Linked DNA regions of Homo sapiens: all the other regions are linked to region 1. Evidence: promoter capture Hi-C in 16 types of primary human blood cells and fetal thymus (Javierre and others, 2016). All regions are on one chromosome and are shown on one strand. Each heading gives the region's core, a stretch centred on a gene start or on the middle of the fragment in contact. The rest is flanking DNA. Distances are from core to core; before and after follow the strand shown.

Evidence for each region. The method cuts DNA at HindIII sites, captures the fragments that hold promoters and counts their contacts. A CHiCAGO score of 5 or more calls a contact.
Region 2: a fragment that was not itself captured here is called in contact with the fragment with the promoter of NEK10 in region 1 in 1 of 17 cell types (monocytes); the score reaches 5.1 in monocytes.
Region 3: a fragment that was not itself captured here is called in contact with the fragment with the promoter of NEK10 in region 1 in 16 of 17 cell types (M0 macrophages, M1 macrophages, total CD4 T cells and 13 more); the score reaches 14.3 in M0 macrophages.
Region 4: a fragment that was not itself captured here is called in contact with the fragment with the promoter of NEK10 in region 1 in 13 of 17 cell types (M2 macrophages, total B cells, M0 macrophages and 10 more); the score reaches 13.2 in M2 macrophages.
Region 5: a contact is called between a fragment that was not itself captured here and the fragment with the promoter of NEK10 in region 1, in 1 of 17 cell types (monocytes). The highest score is 5.3, in monocytes.

Annotation. Positions count from the first base shown.
Region 1 is chr3:27,368,000-27,370,699 of GRCh38, forward strand. NEK10 (NIMA related kinase 10) reads right to left here and starts at 1,384. Exons shown (of 36, transcript NM_001394966.1): 1 at 1,226-1,384. RefSeq lists an enhancer at 642-1,142. The HindIII fragment of the contact is 2,054 bases long and covers 1-1,591 here.
Region 2 is chr3:27,976,745-27,979,444 of GRCh38, forward strand. No RefSeq gene overlaps it. Among named protein-coding and RNA genes, the nearest start is that of LINC01967, 51 kb to the right of the region's middle. The HindIII fragment of the contact is 3,089 bases long and covers 1-2,700 here.
Region 3 is chr3:28,300,274-28,302,973 of GRCh38, forward strand. The region is part of intron 2 of CMC1 (C-X9-C motif containing 1); the gene reads left to right. Among named protein-coding and RNA genes, the nearest start is that of ZCWPW2, 47 kb to the right of the region's middle. The HindIII fragment of the contact is 4,399 bases long and covers 1-2,700 here.
Region 4 is chr3:28,263,663-28,266,362 of GRCh38, forward strand. The region is part of intron 2 of CMC1 (C-X9-C motif containing 1); the gene reads left to right. Among named protein-coding and RNA genes, the nearest start is that of CMC1, 23 kb to the left of the region's middle. The HindIII fragment of the contact is 1,336 bases long and covers 604-1,939 here.
Region 5 is chr3:28,220,588-28,223,287 of GRCh38, forward strand. No RefSeq gene overlaps it. Among named protein-coding and RNA genes, the nearest start is that of CMC1, 20 kb to the right of the region's middle. The HindIII fragment of the contact is 1,000 bases long and covers 840-1,839 here.

The DNA.
Region 1 (2,700 bases), core at 134-2,633:
AAGATCAGTTTAGCCGGGCACGGTGGCTCACGCCTGTAATTCCAGCACTTTGGGAGGCTGAGGCGGGTGGATCACCTGAGATCAGGAGTTCGAGACCAGCCTGACCAACATGGTGAAACCCCTTCTCTACTAAAAATACAAAAATTAGCCAGGCGTAGTGGCTCGCGCCTGTAATCCCAGCTCTCTGGAGGCTGAGGCATGAGAATTGGTTGAACCCGGAAGGCGGAGGCTGCAGTGAGCTGAGATCGCTCCACTGCACTCCAGCCTGGCAGCACAGCAAGACTCCTTCTAAAAAAGGAGTCTTTTTTAGAAGGACTCCATATATATATATATACACATATATATATATCAGTTCAACAATGGTGGGGAAAAAAGTGGATTGGATAGATAGGGCCAGACTAGAATCGGAGAAGCCAGATGGGTGTTGAATTTAACCAACCGATGGTGGAAATTGAGACAGTAAAAATAGAGATGGTAATGTGGGAATTGATTCAACACCTATTAAGAAGGGATAGTCTTGATAATTGATAGAGATGCAGAGGAAGCAGCAGTAAGTGTCATGGATGTCGTCTAGAGTGTAGTTTTTGAAAGCTGAATGGATAGTGATGCCCAAAATAGGGAATCCAAGAGCAGCAGCAGACATGGGGAAGATGGCGTTCAGGGTTGCACATGTGTGGCGTTAACTTGGCAGCTGGATTTTGGGGTCTGACAGTTAGTAGAGCAGGCTAGGTTCCAGTTGGAGACTTTCTAATCATCGTCAGATAGATGGTGCCTGAGGCGAGGAAGTGGAAGGGCTCACCGAAGTAGGGCAGAAAAGCAGAGGGGCAAAGTCAAAGCAGCATCCTGTAAGGAGAAGGCAGAAAAGCGACGCTCATAGAGATGAAGAATGAACCTCCAGAGGCGTCGGAGCAGATTGGAAGAGACACATTCAGGCTCCATTTAACCAGAATAATTCCGTTATCAAAATGGAAGCGCCAAGAAGCATCGTTGATGGCGCTTTCCCACCATCCATCCGTCCAACACAAACCCACCTGCTTTGAAAAGACTGCCTCACGCAGTGACTCACTTACCCACCACAGCCGCATTCTCTACCTCTGCCTCTTGTCTAGTGAAGCTGGCTCCCGAGGCTTCGGGGCCGCTCCACAGGGACCTGAGGACGTCTCCCCGGAGACCCTGACTCAAGCTGCTCGCCGGCACAGCCGAGCACCGGCTCCCGCCTACTCACCGCGCGGGAGGGACGGTCCCTCCTTCAGGCCAATCTCCTTATCATTGTCCCTGCTGCTGTCACCTGCTGCTGCAGACCGGGGGTCCCGTCCAGTCTCAGCCCGTCCCGTCCTCCCCCCAGCCTATTCCCGGTCCCCTCAACCTCAGGGACACCGCGGCCAGCTGCACCGTTGGTTTTCCAATCAAATCCTCCTCCAGGCCACCAACCAGCGCTGGCCAGGCCAATGCCGACAATTCTTCCTCCGCCACCTGGGGCGCCTCAGCCAATCGGGAGCAGCCATGCTGCGCAGTGCAGAACGCCATAGCGACGGATGACGCCTGCCGGGGAATCGCCGTAGCAACCAGAGACGCGCTAGATCCACCACCAAGCTTGCAAGCAGAAGAGGCAGCAAGTGATGCTGAAGGCTGTGCTGCAGCCACTTCACCGGAACCTAGAGCTACCTGTGAACAGGTCTCCTACACGTTGAAGATTTTTCTGGATTTAGGGTGTCTAACCTTTGATGGGAAAGGGCAGCTTCATCTTGGAGTGTTTACTTTCAAGAATTGCTATGGGCTAAAAATCAATTCTCTTTAAAAGCAAAGATTTAATCTGATAAGGAATCAATGCAGCATGCTAAATACCTTTCATATGGCATGAAAACGTCTTCAGTTACTCAAGCCACAGGCAATGAGAATAAGGTGCCACAGCACCGTATTTTTCACAAAAAGAGTGACCTGGGATTCAAGAAACCTGTATAGTATAACTATCGCCAGTTCGTTTTGTGGCTTTGGGCAAGTCACTTCACCTTTTGTGAAAGTCTGGAGCTTCTTTAAAATTTCTGAACTGCATTAGATAACGCTTTAAAAATATACCTGACATTCTGTAACTTTAAATAAATGAAAAATGCCAATCTATTAAGTGCTTAATTTTGTGCCGGGCACGATTTCAAATTCTTTCCTTATTTCACTTAGTTATAAAATGGAGGCACAAGAAGTTTCCTAAGTAGTCCAGTATGGCAGAGCTAGTGATGGAGTCAGGGTAAAACCTACTTCGAGTCTGGTCTTAACCACGATGATGCTCCTTCGACGATTTCTTCGAGTACTGGGCCCTGTTCAACCTCATCTTGGTATCACTAAACGCTCGTGTGTGTGTCTGGTGGTTACATCTTCCCAAACTGGATTTTAAATGAATACAGTGAACCCTAACGTTTTTCTGGTGTGGATAGTAAGTAGGCCCATTGGATTAACAATACTTAAGCTTGGGTAATTGAAAGCATTTTTTAAAATGAAGACGGTCCTATTTTGGAAATGCAGAAAGGCGAGATGAAAGCCAAACTCTGGTGAGTATAGCAGAACTAATTAAACTTCAGAGATCTAAAACAATCAGGATTAATGTTACCAATAAAACAAAACAAGGTGACGGGGCAGGAAGACCGATGCTGAGTAGAAAAAGTATTCTGTACATACATTCTAAATGTTAAGCAGTCGGCCTGGCTT
Region 2 (2,700 bases), core at 2-2,501, 610 kb after region 1:
TTTGTTTGATGTTGTGGCAGAGACTGCTGGTGGCCCACTGTATAAGTTAACTATTGTGACAGTACTGCTGCATTAGCAAACAACCATGAAGATTTGTGGAAATAGCTCATTACTGGAGGAGGTAAGAGAAGATGAGTCCCTATGGGAAAGGGGCAAAAAGCGAGGATGCAGGCTTTAAAGGAATATTTTCATGGAGGAAGATTATAAGAATAGCATTTTCCTTGTCTTCCTTTTAAGAACTAGAGGCATTTAATTGCATCAGAAATAAGTATTACTATGATGTCCATCTCTTCATAACACAGTGACTAAGACTACAGAGAGAAAACTCTAGTTCCTTTACAGTGCTCACCCATTGTAGCAAATGGGGAAGTCAATCACGTTTCAAAATCACGTGGATATGAGTCAGCATGCTGGTTCCTGACTTACTAGATCTTGCACAATATATCAGTAATAAGCCTAAATTTCCCAATCTAGCTGTAAAATGGGGATAATGTTAGGATCTACTCAGAAGGTTTGTGGGTATATTTATATGAAACACCTTGCTTTAGGCCTATCTTTTAATATTTGGTTGGGTCTGGCTGCTCCAGCATCAACAAGTTATACCAGGTCCTTCTCCCAAACCCTCCAAAAGGCCCGACCATACACCTGACTTTCGTGGATGGAGATGGTATCTCATCAGGACAATACCATTTAATTCTTTTTCTTTTATCTCTATTATTCTGGCACCAATTTGATAGTCACCATCACCTCACGGTTAGGACTTAGACACATAGTAGGAGTTCACTACACTGTAGTGGTTTCCCCCTCAGCAATTGCGCTGCAAGAAAATACTTAGAATTAAAAAACAAAGTAGGACACTAACTAAAAGGAACTCGAGAGTTGGCAGGTTGGTAGGTAACTAGCCATGGTGTGATGCTCACCTGAGTAAAACAATGGTGGAGAATAGCAAATAGGAAGATAGGACGAGACAATGTGGAGTGCTATTGTAAGTCTACTAGGTGAATTGCATTATTTGTAGCAAACTGAGCTGTAAAGTGAGAAATCAGTGAGATGTGAGATTTGCTGATGATATTGGATAACAATGAAGTAAAAACCAGCAATTTGGAGACTTCACCTGACTTGAACAAAATGTTTTCAAGTAGAAGTATTATGAATTCTGAGTTACAAAAAATCATTTTAGCTTTTTAAAAAATTGTTGAGTTAATTGTAGATTCATATGCAATTATAAGACATCGTACAATGAGACCCTGTGGAGCCTTTTCTAAGTTTTCCCCAGTGGTAACAACTTGCAAAGCTATGGAACAATATCACAACTAGGATGTTGACATTGATGCAGTCAAGATACAGAATAATTCCATCACCACAAGAGTCTTTTAAATTATCCTTTTATAGTCATACCCACTTTCCTAAGAGCCCCATTTCTCGCTTAACCCCTAGCAACCACTAACCTGTTCTCCATTTCTATAATTTTATCATTTATAAATGGAAATGTAACTTTTTGAGATTGGCTTCTTTCCCCCACTCTGCACAATTCTCTAGATTTTCATCTAGATGGTTGCGTGAATTGATAGTTCATTCTTATTTACTGCTGACTAGTACTCTATAAGTATGCACATATTACAGTTTCTTCAACCATTCTACCACGGAAGGACACCTGTATTGTTTCTAATTTGGGGCTACCATAAATAAAGCTGCTATATTCGTGTACAGGTTTTTATGTGAACACCAGTGTTCATTTATCTGGAAAATTGTCTACGTGTGCAGTTGCTGGGTTGTATGGTAGTTACATGTTCAATGGTTTTTTTTTTCTTTTCTTTTTTTTTTTTTTTTTTTAACAAAACCACCAAACTATTTTCTGGAGTGGCTGAACAATTTTACATCCCCTCCAGCAGTACATGAGTCATTCAGTTTCTTTCTCCACATCCTACCACCATTTGGCATTGTCACTATTTTTTATTTTAGCCATTCTGATAGGTGTGTAGTGATATCTCATTGTGGTTTTAATTTGCATTTCCCTAATCGCTAATGATGCTGAGCTTCTTTTCATATGCTTATTTGCCACCTGTATATCTTCTTTGGTGAAATGTGTCTTCATGTCTTTTTCCCATGTACTAGTTGAATTGTTTTCATTTTTGCTGCTGAATTTTGAGAGCAATTTGTGTTAGAGATACTAGCCTTTGTCAGATATATGGCTGGCAAATATATTCTCCCAAACTGTAGCTTTTCTTTTCATTCTCTTAATAGAGTCTTTTGCTGAGCAAAAGTTTTTAATTTTTATGAGGTCCAATTTATTTCTTCCCTTCTTGGAGTATGCTTTTGGTATTAAGTCTAAGAACTCTGCCTAAGAACTCTGCCTAGTCCTAGATTCCAAAGATTTTCTTCTGTTTTAGTCCTAAAAGTTTTACAGTTTCATATGTAAGTCCATTATGTATCTTGAGTTAATTTTTATGAGGTGTGAGGTTTAAGTAAAGGTTCATTTTTTTTGTCTATAGATGTCCAACTACTCCAGCATCACTTGCTGAAAAAGCTAATCTTCCCCATTAAATTGGTCTTGTGCTTTTGGGGAAAAAAATAATTTTGGCCTATTTGTGTGGGTTCTATTCTCTTTCTGGCTTTTCTGCTCTGTCCGATTGATCTATGTGTCCATCCCTCTGCCAATATTACACAGTCTTGATTACTGTAGGTATATAACAAGCCTTA
Region 3 (2,700 bases), core at 110-2,609, 930 kb after region 1:
AATGGGAATATTCGAATCTATGTAGCTGTATATTTTGTGAAAAGGAATATCCAAATTTATATTCGAGAACAATTAGCATTTAATAAAATTAAGCCATAATTGCAGAAACATTCCTAGAGTGCGATGAACAGGGAATTCTCACGAGATACAGTAGGGTTCCCCACCTAGTTGTTACTAAACAGCAATTTAGGGCAGAATGGCCTGCTTAGGAAAAAATGAGAGAGAGGGAGCTGGCTTTTTCACTCTGCTCTTCAAAGCCGAGGCTTCTCTTATATAGACCCCACTCTCCCCTCTCCAGCACCCAAAATGATTTCTATCTCTCTTCCTTCCTTCCTTCCTCCCTCCCTCCCTCCCTCCATCCCTTTCCCTCCCTCCATCCCTTTCCCTCCCTTTCCCTCCCTTTCCCTCCCTTTCCCTCCCTTTCCCTCCCTCTCACCCTCCCTCCTTCCTCCCTCTCTCCCTGCCTTCCTTCCTTCCTTCCTTTTTTTTTCATAATATTCTGTAAGATGTAGAGAGTACCAAACCACAATACAAATGTGTTTTTTTCAATTCTTGTCCCTGCCAGTTTTCCTCCTATGAAATAACCACAGTTATCAGTTTTCTTACATATTCTTTCATAGCCATTATGTACTTGCAGACATACCCCCCCGACGTGTACACATGCACACCCCCCAAACACAGAAATGATAACGTTCTGTACCTTGCTGTTTTCACTTTTAAGTCTTAGGGGTCATTCCCTATCAGTGTGCTATTTTTTTTAGTGGCTACATAGTATTTCGTGATACAGTGTTAACATTTAAGCAGTTGATGTTACTGTGATAGATTTGATGACATCACCAAAAGCCACATTCATATAAAAATACTTTTTGCTTCAGGTGAGAGAAGACAAGATGAGGAATGGCTAATAATATGTTATTCTTTTCATGATTCCTTACAGATGGGAACCTATTTATTTACTATTTTGGAGACAAGGCCATGCTCTGTTACCTAGGCTGGAGTGCAGTGGCATGATCACAGCTCACTGCAGCCTTGACCTTCTGGGCTCAAGCGATCCTCCCACCTCAGCCTCCCAAGTAAACAGTACTACATGCGTGTGCCACCATACCCAACTAATTTTTAAAATTATTTGTAGGGGCGGGGCCTCACTATATTCCTGAGGCTGGCCTTGAATTCCTGGATTCAAGCGATCCTCCTGCCTCAGCCTCCCAAAGTGTTGGGATTACAGGCGTGAGCCACTGCACTCGGCTTACTGATTTATTTTTGTTAAGAAAGACATATATGTAGTCTATATCTGAATTGCATGAAAAATTCTACTGCGATCGAATTTGGAGAATTTACTGTCCTTATGGATGCTGTTTTTTTTTTTTAAAAAAATAGGAGATGCTAATGTTTTTTAAGCCAGTTGTTAAATAAATAAATTTGACAAATGAGCGTACTATAAAGTGGGTGACAAGGATTTGTTAATAGTCTGGAAATCACATACCTTGAGGAGGCAGCAATGTTTAAACTGGCGCTGAGCCAGGAGAAGAGAAAAAAATATGAATGTTATTTCCTATAGTGTATGATGAAACGGCAGCATTAGACTACCTTTTTTCAGCCTATAGTACTCCCATCCCCCATCAACACACACCAACCCCCATCAACACACACACACTATGGAACTGGCTACCTTGCGAGTTAAGGAATTTTCTGTCACCACAAATGTTTAAACAGTAAGATGGAGTAGGAAACACTTTGTGAAATAGATTAAGTGACCTCTAAAGGCCTTCACACTCTAACCTTTTTGATTCCAGAAGTCTAGAACAAGACAGCTGGTCCTGTCCAGGGCCCTCGATAAGTAGTATTTAATGGTCACTGTTGGCTCATACTTATTGCCAGAATGGGCTGTAGACCACTTGCAAGTATGAAAAAGTCCAACAGGTTCGTTTATTACTTGTGTCACTAAAAACACGGATCCTACTTTCGTTTCTCCATTGTGTAAGTGATGAGAGAAGGCAAAGCATCTACTAGTGGCAAGAAATCCTAGAAGGCTCCATGTTCAAAAGTTTGCCTGTTTTGTTTTGTTTTGTTTTTTGTCAGTTGCTTTTATCAATACCTATCAATGAATTGGCCTTTTAACATTGGAGACTATGTGGGACAGCAAAGAGGGAATATGTAAGAAAAGTGTGTTTGGGGAGACTTAGGGAATCTTCTATGTGATCTTTTAAAAAAGATAGAGGGATTTGGTGCTTTCATTGTCCACACCAGGCTGTGTGAATGTCTCTCTTTCAAATTCTGGTAGCACTTAATATCTGAAACATGAAATTTAGCACTTCATTATATTTTGTTTGAAGAAGCCCCTTTCTAATGTGTAAAATCCTTATTTTAAATATTTAAATATATTTTATAGGAATACTGGAAAACAGTATGGAATCGGAGAGTTGAGGTATCTGATGCTATTTGATTTTATATGGTTGCTAAGTGGTCATTTAGCAAAAAACCAGCAACAGTGTCTACCTTATTCTTTCCTGTGGTAGTGATACAATGTGATGAACCATTGCCACTTGCTTCCCAGGTCTCATTTGTGACCTCATGTGTGAGATACCTGGCCTGGGTTAAGTCTCTATTGCGTGGGCATGGAAATTTCTGCCAAGCGTAGGAGTTTTTCATGTGTTCTGGAAAGGAATAAGTGAGATCCAATAGTAATTACAGATAACGTTT
Region 4 (2,700 bases), core at 22-2,521, 900 kb after region 1:
GAGAAACAAGTTACTCTTACGATTTTTATAGGGGAGGAAGAAACATCAAATCTAACATATACCTGTTTCCCATCTGTCACCATATTCGCATACATATATATATTCTAAGGTGATTTTCTTTGGTGTCATTGTCTATTACTGAATTGTTAATAGAATCCTGATAGGACTTACAGTGAGTCTGGGGTTTTTGTTTTGTTTTATGTTTCTAAGTGGAAGATATTTATGTAAATACATACACTAGACAGCTACAAGTGTATGTTTTCTTTGGAAAATGTTTTAACATGAAATACTCCTATAGATCTAGAGACATCAGTGATTAATATGTAATATTCTAGTGAAACATGTAAAGAAAGCAGTGAAAGGTGAATAGTGAGGCCATAATACATTTGTAAATGATGAGTTATTAGAAAAGCACATGGCAATATTACTTTAGAAATATCTTTAAAAAATTCTGTCTCTTGGAAGGGCCATCAAAAAGAAGTAATAAACTTTTATGGGCATAGGCTATTTTCCTGGCTTTACTTCTTCACTTTCCCTGTGGTCATCTTTATTGAGGGACCACAATAATTTTTAGTGAGGATGATGGGCTGCACTTCCACTGCAAGCTTCACTACAGGGGAGCAGGGCTGTGTCAACTCTAATTTCAGGACTGGGTCAATAACATTTGGATACTAGGAACGCTTTTGTTCCCTTCCCTGTCCTCTGCCCTTAGAGAGGACCTTTGCAATTGATGAATGGAGGCAATAAAATAAAGAGTAGTTCTTTGGAATCAACAATGTGTGATGGTAATTTTTGTTTCTTCAATAACTTATTATGACCTATTCCATTTTAAAACTCATATAAATAACCATCCAATGGTTTTACTCTTGATTCTTGTGAGTTAGTTTAATCAGAGTACCTTTCTTTAACACCTACCCCCAGATGTCTTGAGACGTCAACCTATTGACACCTGCAGGTAGTGCATGTATGGCATTGGTAGGTGTCATGTTTATGGTCACAAGAGGTACATCCTGCACATTCCTCATACAACTTAAAAAATATATATCCTGATTCAGGTGAGGGGAGATAAAACTTAAAAACCCTATAATAAAGTTGTAGGGCTTTTTACTGCTAGGAAAATTTACTTATTACTGATATATCAGTCTAAAGTTACACATATAAGTTGTATGTGTGCTGTCATGTAGCATATTGTCTTTATACCTAGAATGAAAGAAAGCTAGCTAACTCAATTACAGATTTAATTTTTACTGACATAATTCCAAGGAAAATGCAGAATGATTGTATGACTTTGAGTTTTATTTTTGGTTTTTGAAATGAAAGCGTAGAGTATAACTTTAAAATATTTATTTGTGTTACAAAACTAGTGTTTTATAATGGTACAGAAAATAAAGTGTTTAATTTTCACTTCATCAAAAGTTAAGTTGTTTAGGATGTTGACGTAGTTAAGTTTTTGCTGTTTTAATATACTTACGGTTTCTGAAGACTGAAAGCATCTTAAAATCTGTGACTCATTTGGATTATTTAAATGTATTCATCTATATTAGAATGTAATAATATAATTTGAATATCTTATAGATAATTATGTATTGATTTTTTAGGCCATGTGATTCAAAACAATATTTTAGAATCTAAAATTGATAAGAGAATAAGAAGTCTTTAGTATTTTCTAACCATATAAATTAGGAAATCATATACATTAGAATTATTCAAGCAGCAGAAGAAAACTTCATTTAAACTCAACAGTTATACATAATTTAGAATCGGGACATTTCCATTGTAGTTTATTTACTGTTTATAGCTTTTGCTTTATTAAATAATTATAGGATTTTATATAAAAGCATTATATATGCCAATTGTATGGTTCTTAGATAAAAGATACAGGAATTTTAATAAGTGATCTGACTTTCTGCTAAATGCCTAAAACATGATTATGTAGGAAAGCTTTTCCGTTAGATTTTTTTTTTAATGTCATTTCAACCCAGCTGATCATAAGAATTGGGTCAGACTGCCAGCAACTTAGGTTTGTGAAGGGAATGGAACAGCTTTTCCATGGACAAAGAGAAATGAAATCACTTTCAATGAAAGAAAGATGCCTCATTATAGTCACCAACAGCAGTTATTGACAGCTACACTTCCTATTAACAAGGAGCATTTAACTAAGAGTTTGGCTGTTGGATCTTTGGACTTGATCTAATTTGCTAGCATTAATTAGTTTCTTTTGAGCACAGACACTTGGTGCTCACAGCTATAGATTTGCAGGGCTAATTAGGATAGAAAATTGAACAGAATTGGGTAAGGCATTAACCTTCAACCATTACCAGCTGGGACACTGATAAAGCCCACAGAGTCCAAATGTTACCTATTGATGTGAGGAGTACCCTAATGAATATCAATTTCAGCCAGGTTGCTATATTCTTACTAGTTCTGTCTTCATTTTAATTTTTTAACCAGCTTACATGATACCCTCTTTATCTATACACCATTGGTTTTTACTTAATGTACACTGAATTAGTCTGAGTTGCATATTTCACCTAATGTTTAAATACAGTTAAAATTTGTCTTAAGCAATAGATAACATTTAGAATGTTTCATCATTATATACCCTTATACTTCTAAAATTTAATTTTAATCTGGAATTACATGATTCTAATTCTACAGTGAATTTGTATAAGTTCCAGTAACTATGCCATTTCAGTATAA
Region 5 (2,700 bases), core at 90-2,589, 850 kb after region 1:
GGGACAGATCCAAACCATATCACATACACATGTACACATGCATGCACGCATACTTAGGGCACCACTCTCTGCTCCCAAGCCTACACCTACACTAGGCTTTCTGCTCTTGGTGACTGAAGAGCTATTCATTCAGCCACCTGGGTGGATACCTAGGTGTCGCCCTTTACACTTCCCGCTCATGCACCCACACACCTAATCTCTCACCATGTTCTATTAATTCTACCTCCCAAACATTTCTTGGATTTGTCCCCTTCCATTCATCCTCACTGGCCTGCCCCAGTCTGGGCAATACCTGTCTTGCTTCATATATCACAACATCCTACTAGCATGTCTTGTTGCTTACATCTTGCCCCTTTCTGTTCATTCTCCTAACCAAGCCAAATGTCCAACAATGATAGACTGGAAAATGTGGCACATATACACCATGGAATACTATGCAGCCATAAAAAATGATGAGTTCATGTCCTTTGTAGGGAAGTGGATGAAGCTGGAAACCGTCATTCTCAGCAAACTATCGCAAGGACAAAAAACCAAACACCGCATGTTCTCACTCATAGGTGGGAATTGAACAATGAGAACATATGGACACAGGAAGGGGAACATCACACACCGGGGCCTGTTGTGGGGTGGGGGGAGGGGGAGGGATAGCATTAGGAGATATACCTAATGTTAAATGACGAGTTAATGGGTGCAGCACACCAACATGGCACATGTATACATATGTAACTAACCTGCACGTTGTGCACATGTACCCTAAAACTTAAAGTATAATAAAAAAAGAAAAAAAAATTTAAAATGAAAAAAATTAAAATAAAAGATTTTTTAAACGGTGGTCTTTAAGCTTTTTTGCCTACAAACCCCCCAATAGAAATTTTCAAAATTATATGTAATGTTTAATTATATGTAATGTTTAAGTAAAACTTATTTTACTGTAAATTTAAATAATTTCAAAGGCTAGAATATCTGATACAATGTAAACAGTGATACAGAAAATATAAAGAACATTTATTTGGATACATTCAAAAGAGGACACAGTTGTGTCCTCAAAAGTCATTTAATGCCTGCCATTGGCCTCTTTAAAAATACCTGAACAAGTTCACAAGTTCTTCTCTAAGAGTTAGTGATTTTATGGTTTTTTTCTCAAACTTATATTTCTATTATACTTCCTCCACAGATTTTATCTTAACAGAATAATTTTTAGTCTTTTATTGATTATTCTGTTACTGCAGCAAAAGCATATATATATATATATATATATATATATATATATATATATATGCTGAAGTTTTCATTTCCTGTGTCCATAAGGCTCTAAGTATTAAATAATTTCTTACAGATTGATTTACTATTATTCATATCATTCAATATAATTAATGAAAACAACAAATATATATTTAGAAAAATGCTTACTAAATATAAGTAAAATATTACATGAAAACCACCTCTTAATGAGATAAATATCTTTTTTAAATTAGTTTATGTGCCTATGGATAAACATTACTTATTTCTAGAATTAGGATTCAGAATAAATTCTATGCCTATGTTTGACCTTATACATATAATTTTTGAGAAGCATTGATCCCATAAATACCTATATGGGCCAAGAAAGAATTTTATTATAGCAATGACAGCTATTTATTTAAATGTTTTCCAAGTAACATACCAAAAATCACATGATAAGTTATTTAAAATTACTTTACAATGATTTATGAGTTAGCAACTTAATTAGGTCCTCCTTTAATCTTATGAAAAGCAAACCATTGGACATCCTGTAACTTGTGAGTTTTACCAGTCATTAGAGTTCTTTACTTGGCCAATATCTGAGAAGTATACTAAAAAAGCTTCAGCTAAACTCATATGACAATTAGTTTTACTCTTTCATTTGAAGATGTCTTATTCATGATTCTAAAATTAGTCAAAGTCAGGCACATGCTTGTACTCTCTCTCTCTATGTGTGTGTGTGTATATATATCTATATATATTCCCACATTTCACATTAGGGTATTTTCTGTCATCTGTTTAAGAAAATATCTTAGCATTTGTGCTGTGGTTTAGTTTTCCAGGTCATTTCCTGATGCTTTAAAAAGCATAGCAGGTTGACATGAAGATAGGCTCTTGAGAATTATTATATTTAGATAGTACAGTAACGTAATTTCATGGTGAAAAATACAGAACTAGAGCAGCAAATGCACATTTGAGACAGTAGAATTAATCATAATAAATGGAGGCAGATTTTAGGTTCAGGACATTGGATAAATGTATTTTGCAAAAATTAGTAGCAAACAGAAGAGAGGGTATCGCCATGTATTAATGATGGCTGGTCAATGTATTATTTATAGTATAAGCTACAACATATTTATTTTGTTATTCTTATTGTAATAAATAGGAGGAATGTATAGATGACTAAAGATGTTGATGACTGACAGCAGGAACCTTGGTCAAGTAAAAAGTTAGTGTGTTTACAGTATTCAGTAATTTCTTAGGAAAAATAATGAAATTGTTTCTCCACAATCTGAATCAAAATGTAAAACAGAAACTTACCTTTGTTATATGTTCCTTTCACTGAAGCTGTAAAATCTTTAGAAAATGAATCAATTATTTTCCACTCTTTTCTCCTTGAAATCAGACCAACAAGACAGCTGAAAACACAGGTGAAGGGGAATTCTCTCGTTGGTATTGGTATTCTTTCTCCTTACCCAG